Linked DNA regions of Homo sapiens: all the other regions are linked to region 3. The links are contacts of gene promoters, found by promoter capture Hi-C in human tissues and cell types (Jung and others, 2019). All regions are on one chromosome and are shown on one strand. The core of a region is centred on a gene start or on the middle of the fragment in contact, and the rest is flanking DNA. Distances in the headings are between cores, read along the strand shown.

Region 1 (2,700 bases), core at 175-2,674, 1.1 Mb after region 3:
AACATTAGCCAGACATGGTGGCATGAAACTGTAATCTCAGATACTCGGAAGGCTAAGGTGGTAGAATCATTTAAACCCAGGGGGCAGAGTTTGCAGTGAGCTGGGATCCTGCCCCTGCACTTCTGCCTGGGAAACAGAGCAAGATGTTGTAAAAAAAAGAAAAAAAAACGAAAAAAAAAAACCCCAAAAACTGAAGGTGGAATTACCATCATGAGAGAAGAATCTAAGACTAGAACAACTTTATTATGGGCTAGGCATGGTGGCTAACATCTGTAATCCAAGCACTTTGAGAGGCTGAGGGAGGAGGATCACTTAAGGCCAGAAGTCCAAGACCAAACCAGATAACACAGTGAAACACAATTTCTACCAAAAAAAAAAAAAATTATTAGCTGGATGTGGTGATTCCTGCCTGCAGTCCCAGCTGTCTGTAGTCCCAGCCACTCAGGAGGCTGAGGCAACCACCAAGCTAGCAGCATGGTGAAAACCCATCTTTACAAAAAATACAAGAAAAATTAGCCAGGTATGGTGGCACATACTTGTATTCCCAGCTACTCTGTAGGCTGAGGGGGGAGGATCACCAGCTACTCTGGAGGCTGACGGAGAGGATCCCTTGAGCCTGGGAGGTCCAGGTTGCCAAGAGCATGACACTGCATTCCCACCTGAGCTGCAGCAAAAACCCTGTCTCAAAAAAAAAAAAAAAAAAAAAGACAATGAATAGGCAAAGCATCCCAAACAATAAATAAATAAATAAATAATGAAGCCCAAAGCATCACATTATCCAGCTTCAAGCTATTCTATAAGGATGCCATTATCCTAAACAAATTCATGCAGAAACAAATATTACATGTCCTCACTTAGAAGTGGGAGTTCAGCCTGGTATACAGGGACATAAAGATGAGAACAATAGACCACTGAGGACTCCGAAAGGAGGGAGGGAGGGACATAAGGGGGTAGAGGCTGAAAAACTTCCTCCTGGGGATTTAGTTCACTCTCTGGGTGATGAGATCAAGCCTCAGAATCACGCAATATATTCTCATAACAAACCTACACATGTACCTCCTGAATCTAAAATTAAAATGTAACATGAGTCAACGTAACACAGAATAATACAATAATAAAATATCTCCCCAAAAAATGATCCTCTAATTTTAAAAATGGGCAACTACCCTGGCCTGCTCCTCAGTAACATAGCGATCTTTAGGCATCTGACAAGCACTACTCTGAGGCAGAAAGGGATCCTGTCTGCTCTAGTACTAGCAATGCATTTGGGGACAATAATGAACTTTCTAACCAGGGTGCCCCAAGACGGCTTTCTCTGTACAAGAAAGGTGATATTTTTTCTTTTCAATTCCTAAAGCAAATTGTTTAACTAGATAACTTCATCTCAAATGATAGGACTTTATGTTAATCTCATTAATTCCATGTCCTGATGTAACTTGCTCCTAAGAATAAGGTTCACACCCACCTCCCTGCAATCTGATTTGGACGGCCCATGAGACCAGAAGATTACAAAAACGCAAAAGATGTTGACTTATGAGTCCTAGATACCCTGTATCCGCTGGTGAAAGGACGCGATGGAGTTGCCGTGTCCCCTCCGAGTTTGGCAGGCCCGGGATTCCGCAAAGGAGGCGGCGGGACCAGATGCCTCCAGCCCGGAGCTCAGTACATTCGGTGTCCTGGATGCTCCCTTCCTGTGCTTACCACTGCGAGCTCTCCTGGGCCGACCTAGATTTCCACTGCCACATACTTTCCGCTCCCTGCGTGCTTCCTTGCTGAAACTGCCGGCGAAAAGATCTCTTTCCCAAGCCTCAGAGTACCTGGAGGCGGGGCGCAGAGTCGCCTGCTCTGGATCCGGCGCAGGCAATTCAGGAGGAGCCGCAGGAGCCCTCGGGAGAGCAGGAGGCTGCATAGGGTCTCAACATACGCCCGCCCGCCCCCGCAGCCTCCCTCGCAACTCGCCTCTCGCTTAGTGGACAGACGACTGGAGCCGGAGACTTCCATCCGAGAAGACCTTTGAGAGTGTCAGCCTACTGCTGTCCCCTGGTGCCACCAACCAAAGTTCCAAGACTGCTGGCTGCAGATGGCATGCGCTTGGGGACAGACGCCCTGAGACTGTGTCCACGGCCCGCCTTTGGAATCCTGGGCCCTGAAACTTCCTCTGAGACCTTCCATTGGATGATCCTCTTGTAAATAAATAAATAAATAAATAAAGTTACAATAATACCTGAGTTCTCTCAAATGCGATGGAAGAAGTTTCGCCTTCAGATCACTTTATGCCTTTTTTCCTTCCTCTTCTCAATAAAATTGTACACAAATGTGAAATTCCTGTTACCTGAGTTCCTGCTGATGACGTTGAGTAAGGATGAGGCTCAGGGGTGGGGTGTCTGGTTGCTGTTGCCAGGACTGGCAGGGAAACCTGGGTCGCCTGGATTTGCTGGTTGCAGAGCAAAATCAAATACAAAAAGTGGTGTGTCTTATGCAGAGATTGGAGGGGAGGACCGGCCCGGGGTCATGCAGGGTGGGGGACTCACAGGCTAAGCCTACAGGAAATCAAGTGAACAGGCAGAGGACCTGAGAACTTACTGCAGGAAATTCTCCTGTTCTAAGGCCCTGGAACTTTTTCCCTCTGAAGCTTTGCACCCTCCTATCTTGAGACCTTGCTAAACTCACTCATGAGTTCTGGAAGTTTGCTTTTAGACT
Region 2 (2,700 bases), core at 26-2,525, 1.2 Mb after region 3:
TAAGGATAGAATTGTCACAGATACTTCCACTTCGATATGAGTAATGCAATGAACAACACCAAAAAACAAACAAACCAACCTAGGCTGGGTGCAGTGGCTCGCACTTGTACTCCTAGCACTTTGGGAGGCCAAGGCAGGCGGATCACTTGAGGCAAGGAGTTCAAGACCATCCTGGCGAACATGGTGAAATGCCATCTCTACTAAAAATATAAGAAAATTTGCTGGGCGTGGTGGCCCACACCTGTAATCTCAAGTTACTCAGTAGGCTGAGGCGAGAGAATCATTTGAACCCGGGAGGCAGAGCTTGCAGTGAGCTGAGAACACACCACTGTACTCCAGCCTGGGCAACAGAGCAAGACCCTGTCTCAAAAAAAAAAAAAAAAAGGTGGAGTTACCATCATGAGAGAATATAAAGTACAAAGATTCTAAGACTAGAAAACTTTATTATGGGCCGGGCATAGTGGCTCATGCCTGTAATCCCAGCACTATGGGAGGCTGAGGCAGGAGGATCACTTGAGGCCAAAAACTCAAAACTAGCCCAGGCAACATAGTAAAATACCATCTCTAGTAAAAAAAAAAAAAAAAAAAAAATTAGCTGGATGTGTTGGTGTCTGCTTGTAGTCCCAGCCACACAGGAGGCTGAGGCAACATAATTGTTTGAGCCCAGGAGTTCAAGGCTGAAGTGAGCTGTGATGATACCACTGCATTCTAGCCTGAGCTACAGAGTGAAACCTTGCCTCCAAAATAAAAATAAACGTTTGTTACAGCCATGGACAAAGAGAAAGCAATTAATGGCTTTCAGTGAACTAAATGGGAGGTATCTAGACTAAAAAAATCTTGTAGTCTTCTGCCCAAGATGGCCTGCTGGCCTCTAGGCAAAAATGATACATGATTAGATAAAGGTGGAAGTTTTGATTTAGTTTTGATTGAATTGTTAAACTACTGATGATACAGTGCCCACGTATATGATATTGACTCCATAAATTATCAGGTTGGCCAAAGATGTAGCAAAGGCATTTGTAAGAAAGCTGTAACTGATAACGCTTGATGGTATATTTCTACATTTTCTTCCTAAGTTTATCAGATTAGTTGACCCCTATATCAGCTGAGTTCTTTATTCTCTAAGTTATGACACGCTAATTCTTGGAGGATGTAACATAATATAAATAACATGTAAAAGCAAAATACTATACGCAGTCATTTAACCCATTTCCCATTTGTCCTGAGAATACTTGCAAGTGGGGCTTGCAGCTGCAGCATTTACCCTCAGATCACTTGCAGATTTCTTTTTTTTCAGATAATATTATAATTGCAGTATGTGTAAATCAACATTCCCTGAGAAAGTATCACCTGCCTTAACAGTTTTTGTCTGGGGAAGTTGAAAAGAAATAGTACATTCCTTTGCACATGTTGGAGGGAGAAGTATGTCTGCATAAGAGTCTGGACAGCAGGTCTCTGCCTGTGTGACATGGGTCTCCTTTGGGAATGGTCACTACTCTGTGTGTTATACCCATGCAGAGCACTGCCAACTCTCTACAATGCAAGGTTCCATCCACTGTTCACATCTGGAGAGACACATCCAGGCTACATACTCAAAGAAATGCTAAAGAGGCCGGCCGCGGTGGCTCACGCCTGTAATCCCAGCACTTTGGGAGGCCGAGGCAGGCGGATCACGAGGTCAGGAGATCGAGACCATCCTGGCTAACACGGTGAAACCCCGTCTCTACTAAAAATACAGAAAATTAGCCGGGTGTAGTGGCGGGTGCCTGTAGTCCCAGCTACTTGGGAGGCTAAGGCAGGAGAATGGCATGAACCCGGGAGGCGGAGCTTGCAGTGAGCCACGATCGCGCCACTGCACTCCAGCCTGGGCAACAGAGGGAGACTCCGTCTCAAAAAAAAAAAAAAAAAAATGCTAAAGCTAGTTTTCTGGGATCACCACTGGTACTTCTCGAGTAATACTGGCATGTAGGAGTTGCTCCTGCTCTCAGGATTCATTCTCCAGACACCTAGAGTCCATAAACCTTTCACCTAACAAGAGCTTTCAATCTTCTGCCTTCTGTATCTATTCTGTCATTCTCATTCTGTTTCATTTTTTTCACTTCCTGTTGTATAGTTGCATATTTTCCTTTTTTCTAGTAAAAAGAAGCATGGCTTTGAAGGGAAGCTTCAATTCAGACCTTTTCTTTCTGGTCTTCAAATCAGCTCCTGGAATAAACACAGAGTTAGCTGTGTTCTGAATGATCTCCTGACAGAGTCTTTATTCTCTCATTAGTAAGAGTTGTGAAAACTGCAGCCAACTCCTCATCTTTGTATTTGTGGCTCCCTTTATAGCCCCTGGAACACAGAAGGATATCAAAACATGCTTGCTAAATGTTGGGATCAATCAGATTTTACCATAGTAAACAATAATGTTTAATTAGGTAATTCTATAATTGTATCCATTGATGCTTTCCAAATAGCATGTTTAACTCAGACAAATTCCAGTTTCACAGAGGATATGAGAAGGAAAAAAAATCCACAGCAAGAATACAACAAAGAAGGATTCATTTTACATTCGTTCTGATTAAGAATATCTTTCAGTTTATGATAAAATCAACGATAATATTGTTAAAAACTGACCTAATTACTTTCAACCAGATACTGTCCAAACATTAACTTTTTCCATCAAAAGTATCCCTGATAGTTACTTTGTAAAATGAA
Region 3 (2,700 bases), core at 3-2,502:
ACCATTCCCTAGCACCTACCGAAGGAGCTCAGTGGCTCCTCTGTGTTCTCAGCGGTCAGGGATTGGATGCAGGAAAGAGCAATGGGGCCAGGCAGGCACGCTTCAGGAGTAAGCACCGTGTGCATGGCACGCTGTCAAGCTCAGACCTATTACTGAATACCAAGGAAGAGGCTCCCGCGATTGAGACGGCGGGGATAAAGCCACCCTCCTGGACCTGGCGCTCTGGTCCTGTAATTCGCTCCTAGGGCTCCAGACAGGGGTGGGCTTACAAGCGAGGACAGTGCATAAGGCAAAACCACAAGTCAGTCCACGGTGGGAATGCCTCCGGATACCACTCGGTGGAGAGTCGGCAGTGGGGCACAAAAAGGATTTCAAAGGGCTCTGAAAACCGAAAGCCCCTAACCCGGATACGAGGGGCCTCGAGAGAAAGGTTTGTCCTCCCCTGCAGCCCAGGCGCGGGCCAGGGACACACCTCGGATGGTTTCCCAGCTTGGCCGGCAAGACGCCCTGGCGAGCGCTCCAGTCTACGGGGCAGCAGAGCCAAATAGGGAGGAGAGGATGGGAGCGGCATTCCACACCCGCCGCACCCGGCATCCAGCCCCGGTGAACTCGAGCAGAGCCATGGCTAACCCAGCCTCAGGTTCTGGGCCTCTAGAGGTTCCTCTGCCCAGAGATCCAACATCGGGGGCGCAAACCTACCCGCTGTTGCCTCACTCCTAAACCTCCATATACTGGCGCCCTCCTCCCCCCGTTCAGACCCTCAGAGTCCCTATCCAAGGGCGGGTGCCAGGAGGGAAGCCGACGAGCGCCAAAGGGCTCGGGAGCGCTGCCAGGAGTCCTCCCGCCCCTTCTCAGCCTCTCCGCGCGCTTCTTTATCGCGTCTCGCTCCATCAGGGAAGCGACTGCAGAACCAAGCAAAGGCGGTCATCCGAGGGGCCGGCGAGGCCAGGAACGCGTCGCCGCGTGTCCGTGACCAGGGCACCGCGCCACGGATGCCAGATCCCAGGCTGGAGAGAGCGGGTAGGGGCAGAGAAGAAAACGCGGGCACCACTCAGGGTTTGGTCCACGTTCTTCCTGCCCATGGCCTTCCTCTTCCCCCGCACTTTACCTTGTACCAGGTTGCCCCAGATCCGCGGGCAGAGGCGCAGAGCCGAAGCCCGGAGGAGAGGAGTTTGAGAGCCGCCATCTTCGGGCGGTGAGGCAGGAGGAGGCTGCGGGTTGGAGCGCGCGTTTGAGCGTCGGTGCGCGACTGCGAAGGAAACCCGGGCGGGCTGGAGGCTCGACAGCGCGTCGATGACGTCCTCCCGGCCTTTCGAGCCGCACGCCACCGGCGCGCTGCTGGCTGCTGCTTTTAAAAGAAGTGAGGCTGGGCGGGGCCCCGGCGGGGAGAAGAGGCTCTGTGCAGCCGGGGCGGATCGCGGGGAAGTTCCTCTCAGCGCCTCAGGTGTCTGGGCGTGTGCAGCTGTGTTGGCGCACACTTGCCGCTACAGCCCTTCTGTCAGCCCTTTAGCTTCGATGGGGCGCTGGTGGCCGCCTCCCCCTAGGTTGTGGATGAGTCTTGGCCTAGGGTTCAGGGCCCTCCGGCCGCGGGAGGATCTCCCGCCAAGCTTGTTGCTTTTCCAAGTTAGTGCCTGGCGTGTGTGTGGGCTGCATAGGGGCACCCCTCGAGGCCCCCTTCTCTTCTCCCGCCTGGACTGCGTTCACGTTTCTAACATTTCTCAGCCCCTTCTCCCCACATCTGGCCTTGGCTTACATAGAGTAAGTTTGCTGTGAGCACTTGCCTCGAACTGTCGGTCAAGAGGTGTGAGCAACAAGGCTTGCAGAGGAACAAGATTAAGACTGGACCTCTGTGACCTGAGTTTAGCACACCTTTTCTTCCCCATCATCCAAGTTTGCGAATTTCGGGCTCTTTCTCGCACTGGAGTCCCAGCAACCCCAGAGATTACTAAAGATGCAACCATAAAAGCAGTATATTGCTTTAACCTTAGGCAAGTTAGATAACTTCCCTAAGCCTCAGTGTCCTCATCTGCAAATTAGGATTGCTTGTGATACAACGTCATAACGTTTCTATGAGTTAATTCATGCAAAGTTTATGGCCTTATTATGAGGAGTCAATAAATGTTAGGCATTATTATAAGTTTATTCCATTGTAGCAGTTCATTGACATGGCACGTACATATTCGCCAAGCCTTGTCTTTTGACCAACTCCTTGAGGACATGAGCCACGACTGATTTCTCCAGAACTGTCTTTGCACTTAGCAGAGTGGAAAGACCAAGTGGAAGCTCAATAGCATTTTATTTGATTAAGGCCTGACCAAGTTCTGAGAATGTGATGTTAGTTTTGAACCAAAGCAAAGCACACAAAAATTAAATGAGATCTTAGCTTCCTTAGCAAATACAGTAAGGTAATGAACAGTGAAGATGCAGTTCAAAGTTTGTCCATAAAATCATTTGCCCTTTCATGGTATTCTTTTAACTCTGAACTTTTTTTTTTCCTGTAAATATTATAATTTTAGTCAAAATCAGTTAAGGAGTAAGATACCAAGTTAGACTATTCAATTACACTGGAGAAATTAACTTATTGCTAGTTGGTATTTCAACACATTTTAAGAAGTTGGATTGGGGGGAAATTCAAGTACTGTAACTAAAGTCCCATAACTAGTGATAATTTAGCATATAGCAGCTGTTGTACCTTTAACT

The links. Contacts are between HindIII fragments. The study calls those that stand out against the background at their distance.
Region 1: a fragment that was not itself captured here is called in contact with the fragment with the promoter of OXCT1 in region 3 in 1 of the 25 tissues and cell types used here (mesenchymal stem cells).
Region 2: a fragment that was not itself captured here is called in contact with the fragment with the promoter of OXCT1 in region 3 in 1 of the 25 tissues and cell types used here (lymphoblastoid cells).

Annotation. Positions count from the first base shown.
Region 1 is chr5:42,998,686-43,001,385 of GRCh38, forward strand. LOC105374746 (a long non-coding RNA gene) reads left to right here. Exons shown (of 3, transcript XR_007058755.1): 3 at 1,448-2,322. Among named protein-coding and RNA genes, the nearest start is that of FLJ32255, 6.7 kb to the left of the region's middle. RefSeq lists enhancers at 1,264-1,765, 1,766-2,265. The HindIII fragment of the contact is 7,656 bases long and covers 1-2,700 here.
Region 2 is chr5:43,026,923-43,029,622 of GRCh38, forward strand. The region is part of intron 2 of ANXA2R-OT1 (ANXA2R overlapping transcript 1); the gene reads right to left. LOC105374748 (a long non-coding RNA gene) reads left to right here. Exons shown (of 3, transcript NR_188279.1): 3 at 1-774. Among named protein-coding and RNA genes, the nearest start is that of ANXA2R, 12 kb to the right of the region's middle. The HindIII fragment of the contact is 3,202 bases long and covers 1-2,700 here.
Region 3 is chr5:41,869,173-41,871,872 of GRCh38, forward strand. It overlaps OXCT1 (3-oxoacid CoA-transferase 1), which reads right to left and starts at 1,253. Exons shown (of 17, transcript NM_000436.4): 1 at 1,109-1,253. The coding sequence starts at 1,186. OXCT1-AS1 (OXCT1 antisense RNA 1) reads left to right here and starts at 858. Exons shown (of 3, transcript NR_046635.1): 1 at 858-1,020; 2 at 1,119-1,210; 3 at 1,594-2,700. It overlaps LOC102723752 (a long non-coding RNA gene), which reads left to right. Exons shown (of 3, transcript XR_925956.4): 1 at 1-430. RefSeq lists enhancers at 890-969, 1,800-1,849. The HindIII fragment of the contact is 6,323 bases long and covers 1-2,700 here.